2 separate regions of the Homo sapiens genome follow, and region 2 is linked to region 1. The links are contacts of gene promoters, found by promoter capture Hi-C in blood cells and fetal thymus (Javierre and others, 2016). All regions are on one chromosome and are shown on one strand. Each heading gives the region's core, a stretch centred on a gene start or on the middle of the fragment in contact. The rest is flanking DNA. Distances are from core to core; before and after follow the strand shown.

Evidence for each region. The method cuts DNA at HindIII sites, captures the fragments that hold promoters and counts their contacts. A CHiCAGO score of 5 or more calls a contact.
Region 2: a contact is called between a fragment that was not itself captured here and the fragment with the promoter of UBE2V1 in region 1, in 1 of 17 cell types (monocytes). The highest score is 8.3, in monocytes.

Annotation. Positions count from the first base shown.
Region 1 is chr20:50,111,017-50,116,269 of GRCh38, forward strand. It overlaps UBE2V1 (ubiquitin conjugating enzyme E2 V1), which reads right to left and starts at 2,134. Exons shown (of 4, transcript NM_001032288.3): 1 at 2,091-2,134. The coding sequence starts at 2,112. The region is part of intron 5 of PEDS1-UBE2V1 (PEDS1-UBE2V1 readthrough); the gene reads right to left. RefSeq lists silencers at 1,662-2,201, 4,905-5,061 and enhancers at 2,372-2,481, 2,486-3,053. The HindIII fragment of the contact is 8,664 bases long and covers 1-5,253 here.
Region 2 is chr20:50,536,233-50,541,485 of GRCh38, forward strand. The region is part of intron 1 of PTPN1 (protein tyrosine phosphatase non-receptor type 1); the gene reads left to right. Among named protein-coding and RNA genes, the nearest start is that of PTPN1, 28 kb to the left of the region's middle. RefSeq lists enhancers at 4,303-5,253, 4,849-5,253. The HindIII fragment of the contact is 7,346 bases long and covers 1-5,253 here.

The DNA of each region.
Region 1 (5,253 bases), core at 884-3,383:
TATTTACTCCTTAACAGCCTTCTCTCCCTGACTTGAATGGAAGCTCCCGAAGGATACAGACTATGTCCATTTTGTTTGCTATCCACGATGGGACATAATAGGCCCTCAGTAAATATCTGTTGAATAAACAGACAAAAGAATTTTGGGAAGTCCATTTTAGGGCACCTCAAAGCCTGTCCTATGTTATCTAAACCATGCCAAGTGCTCTTGTATTCCACTAGACAGCAGCTGACATTTTATCTGATCACCATAGCCATTTATGAAGCACTCACTTTTTAACTGTCAGGGTCTGGAGAAGTTAGAACCGGGCAGCTGTTAACCCAGATTGTAGGTAGCCAACCGAGTGACTGCAAGCAGGGCTGAGCTGCAACAGCACCTTATTGCTGGCTACCACCAGCACACTGGGCCCCTTCGTTTATTACGACCCGGTAGGAGTGTTATTCTGGTGAGAAGTTTTACCCAGCAGTCTGGCCTGACTCAGAATCTCTCTTCTGGGAGTGCCTGGGGCAGCGTCATGGTAAATGAATTGACTCAGCACTGTTCCAGCTGAAACCAAAATCGAGTAAAAGGATTCATGGTCTCCGCTATTCTGCAAGAAGACCCCACTGTTTTAAACTCAAAAGGCAGCAGCTTGTGGTGGGTCACTTCAGTCAGATCCCCCACATTCAATTTCTTTTATTCCCACCCCAACCATCAGGCAAGTATGGCTCCTTGAGACCGCAGAGTAGCAACATTTATAAAGAATTCCCCTCACCCTATTTCCCATGGATCACCAATTCCTTCCCAACACTGCCGCTGCTGTGGCCTTAAATATGCCAATGATTGCTGTACTCAGGCTGGTGTCCCTGCAGCCCCACAGTGGGGAACACTGTGGCCCTGTTTGCTTCCTCCATCAGAGAGGTAACCCATTTTCACCCCATCTGAGAGAACCTCCTTGGCCAACTTCACTGCCAGGCACCTGAGGGTGCAGCCTCACCCAAGAGTTCCCATTTCATCTATTCACCTCCCTACTCCCATCAGCCAGTGGGGAACTTCTGAGCTGAACCCACATATCTGTCCCAATTATTAAAGGAGTCGATGAGAGTGAGCGTCTCCACAGAAGAGACACTTCTAGGATATGCTTCCCTCACTCAATTCAAAAAGAGGAGACTTTTCTCCTTTACAGGAAACATCTCCGGAACCCGACCTTTTCCACTCCCTCATTTCAGGGGCTTCCCTCAGTTGAATCCCCACTCCCAAAGAGACATCCTCGGGGCTCCCAATTCATCTGTTCTCCCTCATCCAATATCAGAGGCTTCCACCAACTGCCCCACTCGGACCTTGTCCCCTGAAACCTAACTTGAAGCAATCCATCTGTATCCTCGAACAGGAGACTGGTAATGATGGGGTCATTTCACTATCACCGCTATTAGGTCCCTCTGGCATCTGAATCCTTTTCCCTCCTCTCACTTATCATGCGGAGACCCCCTTCATTCTCCCCAAAAGCAGCTGCTCCAAGGCTCCTCCTTTCTAGTCAACATAGCTATTTCCTCAGCTAACCCCATCTCTAAAACTAACGCCGGAGCCGTTCCCTCAACCGATAGGGGATCCTCTCAAGTCACCCCCTCAGGATCCCGTTTCTTCCATCCAGCCTGAAGGGCTTCTCTGATGTCCCCTCCAGACATCCCAAGGCCCCTCTCAGCCGCACCCCTGGCACCCAGTATGGGACTTCCATCCGCTGTGGGGCGCCTCCTCTAGGGGACCTCTAGATCGCCCCTTAAGAGTCGCCAGCCCCGGTATCCTCAGGAGTGCCTCGGAGCTCGCTCCTCGCCCACTCCGGCTCCCCCAGACAGCACAGAGGGCCCTCACGCCTCCCGGGGGAGCCTCAGGGCCTCGCCGCGCCGCCCACAGGCCCCTCAGCCCCCCGCCCGTGCTTCCGGCCACCGCCTGCTCCTCCTCCCCCGGTCAGGCCGCGCCGGTGGCTGCCGCGGAGCCCAGCAGACAGAGGCGGCGCGGGGACCCTGGCTCCGCTGCAGGAGGCTTTGAGGGTCCCCGGCCCCCGGCCCAAGCCCATGCCCCCTCGGCCGGCCGGGCCCGGCGCCCCCGCTCACCCGAGCCCGTGGTGGCTGCCATCTTGCGTCGCTCTTGCTTGAAGGCCGGCCCCTTCTTCACCCCCCCCTTACCCGTCCCCCGGCCCTGATGCGCAGGCGCGCGCGCACGCACATACGCCGCCGCTGACGCCCGCCCCGGAGACCTGCACGACCCGTGGCCTGGAAGGCTCTTTTCCTTCCCTTTTAGAGAAAGGAAATATCTGCGTGCTCGAGGGCCCAGCAACCTGCAAGTCCCCACACATCGGGTGCGAGGGAGGTTGTGATGTGCTTAGTGAGAAGGGCAGGGGTGACTAGGCTTGGGAAGGCGCGATTGTGAAAGAAAAAGAAAATATAGCTTCAAACAAAAGCGCCGAATTCGCTTGGGGCTTTTTCCTGTCTAGTTCCTATCTAGATCCTCACCACATCTCCGCAAGGTCAGAATTAATGTGAAAAATGCAGCCGAGAGAGATCAAGCGATTTATCTAAACTCAGCTGTTAAGTGGCAGAGACAGGCAGAATTTTAACCTCCAGGTTCAAATTTTTTGAATCATCACCCTCCAGGTCAGATGATCTGGCTCCTAGGATTGATGCTCCCCGGCCAGAGAAGGCTTGGAGTGGGTGCAGCTAAATGATTTAGGGGCATTAAGGTGGCAGGGAAAGCATTTGCTAACCATCTACCCAATTCATTCATTCATTCATTCATTCATTCGTTCATTCATTCATTCAACCAAACAAACAAACATTAAGCACCTACTATGTACCAGACACTGTGCTAGGCGCTGGGGATGGATAGACATCTCTGAAGAAGCAAATCCCTGCTTTCAGGGACTTACATTCTAGTCGTAGACAGCAAGTAAATAAACAGGAAACTATAATTCTGATAGGGTAGAGATAAACCAAGACAAGAGCAGCAGAGGATGGTCAGGAAGGGCCTCCTAAGGTGGTCATATTTCAGCAGAGACCGTAACAATGAGGAGGTAGAGGGAACAGCTTGTGCAAAGGCCCTTGGGAAATATTTTTGCAAATAAATAAACCCAAGAAGGTACTCCTCCTTTATTATAAATTGTCTGAGAAGCCCTTATATGGATGTAGACACTGAGGCTGAGAGAGGTGAAGGGACTGGCTTAAGGTCACAGAGCAAAATACTGGCAGAAGGACCAGGACTCTAAACATAGAGGGACAAGGAAGCTGGAAGCCCTCACCCAGCACATCCAATTCATCACCTTTGTCTGATAGCAGTGCCTACTCTGCATCTCTCCACTCCGTTCACTTCTCCACTCAGGGCAAGCTGCCTTTATCTCCCACTTGGAAGACCCCAGCAGCTTCCATTCTCTCCCCTATGGCCCATTCTCCATATAGACCAACATCTGCTCAAAACACCCTCCAGCTAAAGCCTTCAGTGGCTCCCCATTCCCTCTGGATAAAATACAAACTTTACAAGTTGAGCGACCATAGAATTATCACCTAATGAGGACACACATCAGATTAAAAGGGGACTTATTATAATCTCACCAGGACAAGTGGAAACCAGGGCTCTCCAGGGCAAAGCAGGATGCCTGGACACCCTGTGCACCAGGCTCTGCACCCAGGGCAGGGACGAGGATGGGGTGGTCAGATTTAACGGGGCTTTCACTCAGGTCCTGACTCCGCACTTGCACAGCGCTGCAGGTGAGTGACTCCTTAAAATCTGCACCCTAGGGCAGGGCATGGTGGCTCACACCTGTAATCCCAGCACTTTGGGAGGCCGAGGTGGGCAGATCACCTGAGGTCAGGAGTTCCAGACCAGCCTGGTCAACATGGTGAAACCTCGTCTCTACTAAAAATACAAAAATTAGCGGGGCGTGGTAGCACACACCTGTAATCCCAGCTACTCGGGAGGCTGAGGCAGGAAAATCGAGCGAACCCGGGAGGCAGAGGTTGCAGTGAGCTGAGATTGCACCATTGCATTCCAGCCTGGGCAACAGAGAGAGATTCAGTCTCAAAAAAAAAAAAAAAATCTGCACCCTAGGTACCCCACTTGCCTCACCATAGCCTTGGCACAGCCTGCGCCTCTGAGACTTTCTGTACCTCTGCGGCGACACTGGCCCTTTGCAAGCCCCCTGGAACACATGCCCTCTCCCACTTCAGGGGCTTTGCCTGTGCTGTTCCCACTCTTCAGTTCTCAGATCCAGCACCATCCCCTCAGGGAAGCCTTCCTCGATTCCTCCAACCACATCAAATTCAGCTATAATTAGCTCTCAAAGTGCCAGCACTGGCTACAGGTGAAGCAACTTGACTTTTCGTGTATCACGTGATACAAGTTTGCTTTGGGGAGCACAGAAAATACTTGCCCTGGACTTGGGGTCACTGTAAAGCATCAGTAGCAAGTGGAAGCATTTGGGTTCCTAAGGTGGACTCACCTTTGCAGTGAAATTTTCTAGGTTCAAGTCTTCCTTCATCACTCAGTTTGCTTTGTGACTTCAGGTAAGACGCTTGAACCTCTCCTGGCATCAGTTTCCCCTTCTATGAGGATAGTAGTATCAACCTCATAGGATTGCTGTGGAGATAAAATGCTTTCCTAAAACCCCTTGGGCACAGGGAAGAGGAAGGGACACTAGAAGAGCTCATAATTACCAAGCCGTTACATCCAACTTTTAATCCTCACAACTCGATGCAGCAACTCCTGTGAATATCCCCATTTTTAGAGATGAGAAAACTGAGACTCAGAGCTAACAGGTGGAGAGGATGAGGATTAAAACACAAGCCTTTTATCTATGGTGCCCGTAAATGTTTACTCGCATGGATTCCTTGGCTCTTGTAGGAAACTTCTTGCAAGTAAAATTGACAATAATAATTCCCGTGCCGAGCTCATCGCAGGAAGAGGTTAGGCGGGACAGCCCGAGGCATGCTGGTTGTTGTAGTCTAGCGTTGGCGCAGTGCCTGATGGGAGTTGTAGTACGTCCCGCGCACACGCTCCCTCGAAGAGTTTCTGCCCCATTCCTGGACGTCACAGCCGGTCCCCAGAGCAGGATTCCTTCCGGCGCCTGCGCCTGATCACCGCTCTGCGCTTGAGCTGATAAACTCAGCTGATGGGATAAGAGTCTTGTTTTATCGGATTTTGGGGAAGATTAAAATGGTTAATAGAACTAGAGAATTTAGAAGAGGGCTTGGCACTAAGTGCAATATAAGTATTAGCTGCTATTAT
Region 2 (5,253 bases), core at 716-3,215, 430 kb after region 1:
TACTTTTCCCTATAAGGCAGTGTGATAGCCATCTGTATATTCATATAATTTATGTTGGCGCTTACTTCATTTAAAAATGTATTCCGTGAATGCAGTTGCCAGGCGGTGTGCTGATCAGAAACGTGTACCAATGGCCTCTTTTATAATTATAAGAGGAAGACCAACCTGAAACAGTCACACAAATGATTAATTTTAATTGTGGAGGAGTGCTGGGAAAGAAAAATAAAAGATGCAATGCAAGTGTTTACAAAGGAGCTTTGAGCTTGTTTGAAGTGGTCCTTGGGCACTTAAGCAAGGCTTAAAGAATGATGTGATTAGAAGTGGCTTAGCAATTCTAAAGAACACAGGGAAGGCGTGTGGCCAGAACATTGGTCCCTAGAGCACATCGCCTCCTGACATACCATTTCCTTAAGTTAATGTTTTACCACTATACATAGGCCCTCCCCTTTGTTTACCCAGATTTTTTTAATTTTAAGGATGTTTTTAATAACTTAGAATCCTGTAATTTGTTGAACAGTCCTGTATTCCCTTTACTTATATTCCTTGAGATTTTATAAAATATTTTTTACATGTCCCAAGTCTTGATTATATCTTTTTACCTCTTGTTAAGAAATACTTACTTTTCTATTTTTATGCTATATTTCATGTTTACTGTAGAAAACAAAAAAAGTAAAATTTTTCTTTATTCCTATCACTGCAGCTTATAAGCACTCTAAACATTTTGATCTATATTTTGCCAATCATATATTTTAGTTAAAATTGTTGTTGACATAATTGTAGATTCCTGTGCAGTTGAAAGAAATAATACAGAGCTGAGCGCGGTGGCTCACGCCTGTAATCCCAGCACTTTGGGAGGCCGAGGCAGGCAGATCATGAGGTCAGGAGTTTGAGACCAGACTGGCCAACATGGCGAAACCCTGTCTCTACTAAAAATACAAAAATTAGCTGGGTGTGGTGGCGGGCACCTGTAATCCCAGCTAGTTGGGAGGCTGAGGCAGGAGAATCGTTTGAACTCCGGAGGCAGAGGTTGCAGTGAGCCGAGATGGTACCATTCCACTCCAGCCTGGGCAACAAGAGCAAGACTGCATCTCAAAAATAATAATAATAATAATAAATAAACTTTAAAAATAAAACAGAGAGATCCCATGTGCGCTTTGCCTAGTTCCCCCATCCACTGCCCATAACATTTTGCAGAACTGCAGTACAGTATCACAACCACAATACTGACATTGATACAGTCTGCTCATCTTATTCATATTTCCCCAGTGTTACTCGTATCCACGTGTGTATGCATTGTGTTTTCAATACTCTTTTATTATAAAGCTGTTTTTAATGTGATTCAATTCTAGGTTGTTTTGTTCTGCCCTCAAAAAGCATTCCCTCTCCTAATCATATCTCCGTCATACCCTTGTATGTTTTCTTTAAACCTGTTTTAAGAAAGCAGCTACCTGTAAGAGAAATGAGATTGAAAACAGAATTGCCAATCTGCTTGTACTTTATAAGCCTGTTGATTGTTTAGATACGGTTTAGCCAGTTTATAGTTACCCTGGGTGCTGAAAGGTATGCTGGATGATACCTAACCAACAGAGAACCATTGAATGCCGTTCAAAATGGACTGAAGCATCAGCAATGTCTGAAAAAGGCCTGACAGTAATGTACATGTCAAATGGCCCGTAATTTAAGCAGAGTAGAGTAAGTAGAAGAATAAACATGGGGAAAGTTCCAGCAACAGAGGAGGCTTTGAGCTTTTGCTCTTCATCTTGAGTGGATGTTGTTCTCAGGTGGTAATAGGCCATCGAGCTTTCTCCACTGGCTGCCTCTCTGGGGAACAAATAACCGAAAAGATACTCAGCACCCTGGTTGGTACATAGGTGGTCAGTTGATTTATACTTCCTGGTTTTCAGTGTTGCTTGAATTTTCTAAATGGAAACACAGTACCTTTATAATCAGAAAACAATCCCGAGTTTTGATTTGAGGGTGTTGTAAAAAGTTAAAAAAAAAAAAACAGAAATGTGAAAAGGAAGTTGTGTTAGAGTATTTGGAGTTGAGAAAGCATGAAAAGGACAGAAGAGAAGCTGGTTGTCAGGTTGCATGGGGTAGCTACAAGCACACTGACCAGAAAGTCAGCTGGAAAAAAAATGTAGAAACAGGAGATAAAACGGCCAAGGGGCTATACAAGCAAACAGCAAGGACCTGAGAAGAAAAACTAGTTAGGTGTGACTGTCAGAGTGATGTGTACAGTGTGATCCTTTCTGTGTAAAAACAAGCAGTAAGAATTCGCTGTTTACGTTTGCGTGTGTTTGGAGAAGAGTGGGGAAGAGTAGGCACTGCCAGACTGTGAACACTGGTTAGGTTATTGTTATATCTTTGTATTATATACACTGGACATGTTATTTGTATAATATGAGAAGAAATTTTATAAATCATTAAATCTTTTGGCATTTAGGAACATTTGTGTTTTCTAATAGTTGCTTCTATACTATTATCTTTATTATATGCCCTTCATCTTCTCAGTGTTTGGCTGTTGTTGTGATTCCCTTTTGTGAGCAGTGTTGAAGTTAGCTAATATTCATTTCTTCTCCCTTCTTTCACCCTCCTCCAGAGTCTGATTTGAAGTATTCCTAGCTGCTACCTATAAAAGCAATAAGCAAGATTGTTTTACTTTTCACAAACTCGTCCTGTTCTGTGCCTCTGCCTCGGACATAGCTGTAGTATAGAGTGTTGTCTCCCTTACATCCTTCTATCTTAGACCTACTAGTAAATATTAATGCTCACTCTAAGTTCTTCTCAATTCTTTTTTTTTTTTTTTTTTTTTTTTTTGAGAAAGAGTTTCGCTCTTGTTGCCCAGGCTGGAGTGCAACGGCACGATTTCGGCTCACCGCAACCTCCACCTTCTGGGTTTAAGCGACTCTCCTGCCTCAGCCTCCTGAGTAGCTGGGATTACAGTCACGTGCCACCACCCCTGGCAAATTTTGTATTTTTAGTAGAGACAAGGTTTCTTCCATGTTGGCCAGGCTGGTCTCAAACTCCCGACCTCAGGTGATCCACCTGCCTCAGCCTTCCAAAGTGCTGGGATTCCAGGCGTGAGCCACCGCGCCCAGCCTCTTCTCTCAATTCTTCCTGAAGCTCTTTCTGCACTAGATTCCTCAGGAAGGGCTTGTGGGAACAATCTTCTGTGAATCAACAGTACATATTCATAATAGTTTGTCAGCAGCCTATTATTTTAAGGCCATTTGGTCTGTATATAAAAATGTTTGGATCACATTTTCTTTCTTTAAGGTAAATATGTTATTCTGTTGTCTTCTGGTATAAAGCATTGCTGTAAATGTTTGACAGTCTAATTATCTTTTGCTTATAAGTGACTTAGGGTTTTTTGTCTATGTGCCCAAAGGATTTTTTCCCTCTTTCTCTCTTTTTTTTTTTTTTTTTTTTTTTTTAAACAGACAGGATCTCACCCTGTTGCCCAGGCTTTAGTGCAGTGAGGCAGTCAGAGCTTACTGAAGTTTTGAACTCCTGGGCTTGAGGAACAAAGGATTTTTTTAACCTTTTAATTCAAAGTCTCATCATTTATGCAACCATGTCTTGGTGTTGGCTGTTTTGGGTTGTTCTCCCTCAAAAATCCATGTGCTCTTTCAATATGTAGTTTTAAATCTTTTTTTTTTAATTTCAGGAAAATCTTGAATTAGAGTTTTCCGTTTTTCGTCTGGTACATTGCTTGGGTTTCCTTCTTCAGGAACTCAGCCTGTTATGTGTATGTTTGATCTTCTTTGCCTGTCGTCTGTTTCTTTCACTTCCTCTCACTTTTTTAAACTTCATTTATTAAAAAAAAATTTTTTTTTCGAGACAGAGTTTCGCTCTTGTTGCCCAGGCTGGAGTGCAATGGCGTGATCTCGGCTCACTGCAACCTCCGCCTCCCAGGTTCAAGTGATTCTCCTGCCTCAGTCTCCCAAGTAGCTGGGATTACAGGCATGCGCCACCACGCCCAGCTAATTTTTTGTATTTTTAGTAGAGACAGGGTTTCTCCATGTTGGTCAGGCTGGTCTTGAACTCCTGACCTCGTGATCTGCCCGCCTCAGCCTCCCAAAGTGCTGGGATTACAGGCGTGAGCCACTGTGCCCAGCCTTATTAAAAATTTTAAAAACATACATTTAAACTTAACAGAAAAATTATGAGAGAGAAGGGGGTGGTGCCAGGCTTTTTTAAACAACCAGCTCTTACATGAACTCATAGAGTGATAACTCATTACCATGAGGACGGCATCAAGCCGTTCATGAAGGATCTGGCCCCGTGACCCAGACACCTCCTACTAGGTCCATTTTTAACATTGGGGATCACATTTCAACGTGAGATTTGGAGGGGGCAAAACTACAAACCATGTCACTCAGGGATTGGAGGAGCAAGTACCACCTATACTTTGGACTCAGGTAGAAAGGCAAAATATCCAGGAAATAAGCTGCTACCGTCCAGGGTTCAGCAGAGGTGCCCATCAGCCTGCCAAGTACTCAAGAGTCCAGCCTCTAGGGAGCTAATCATCATGGTGAGCTCTTCGAGGCACAGGGAGCTGGGAAGACAGTGCTTGCCACCCCTGCCTGAATAGTGTTTGCACAGAGAGTTCTGTTGTGTCTTGATTGGGTCCTCCTGCCACTGGGAATGCTGTGGATTATACTAGGTCTCTATCTGGCTTGTTTCAGGGCTCCATGTGAAAACCTTCTTGATATCCTAGCCATCCACCTGCTCAGTCCCTAGTTTGCAAGGAGGCTGTGGGGAGCCTAGATTCTGTGTCAGATAGAATGTACTACATTCCGTCTCAGGAATGTACCACATCAGAAAACAGTGCGACCTGCAGGAGAAGTAGAGGTGAAGAGGCACATTCTTCCGAGAAATGTTTCTCTCAACACCCAGCATTCCCTGGATATCAGCAGGAAATTACTCACTGCTAGAAAATGCCCCATGAGCCTTCTGTTAAGGAGGTCAAGGGAGAGAACAGAGAAAGTTCTCAAAGTTGACTTGGTCACTGGTACTTTCTTATGCGGTTCTTATTTTGTTTGCCATCGTCATCATCATGCTATGTCTATTTTCTCAATCCAAATCCACTGCTTTCACCTTGGTTCTTTCTGACCGGTTTGGCACACTCATTCAGTAAATCCTTATGGAGAGCCCAATGTCTGCATAATTGTGCTGTGCTGATGACCAAGCTAGACCTACGAGTGTCGGCTCCTTTGAGATGTACGGGACAGCTCTTCTGTCATCTCT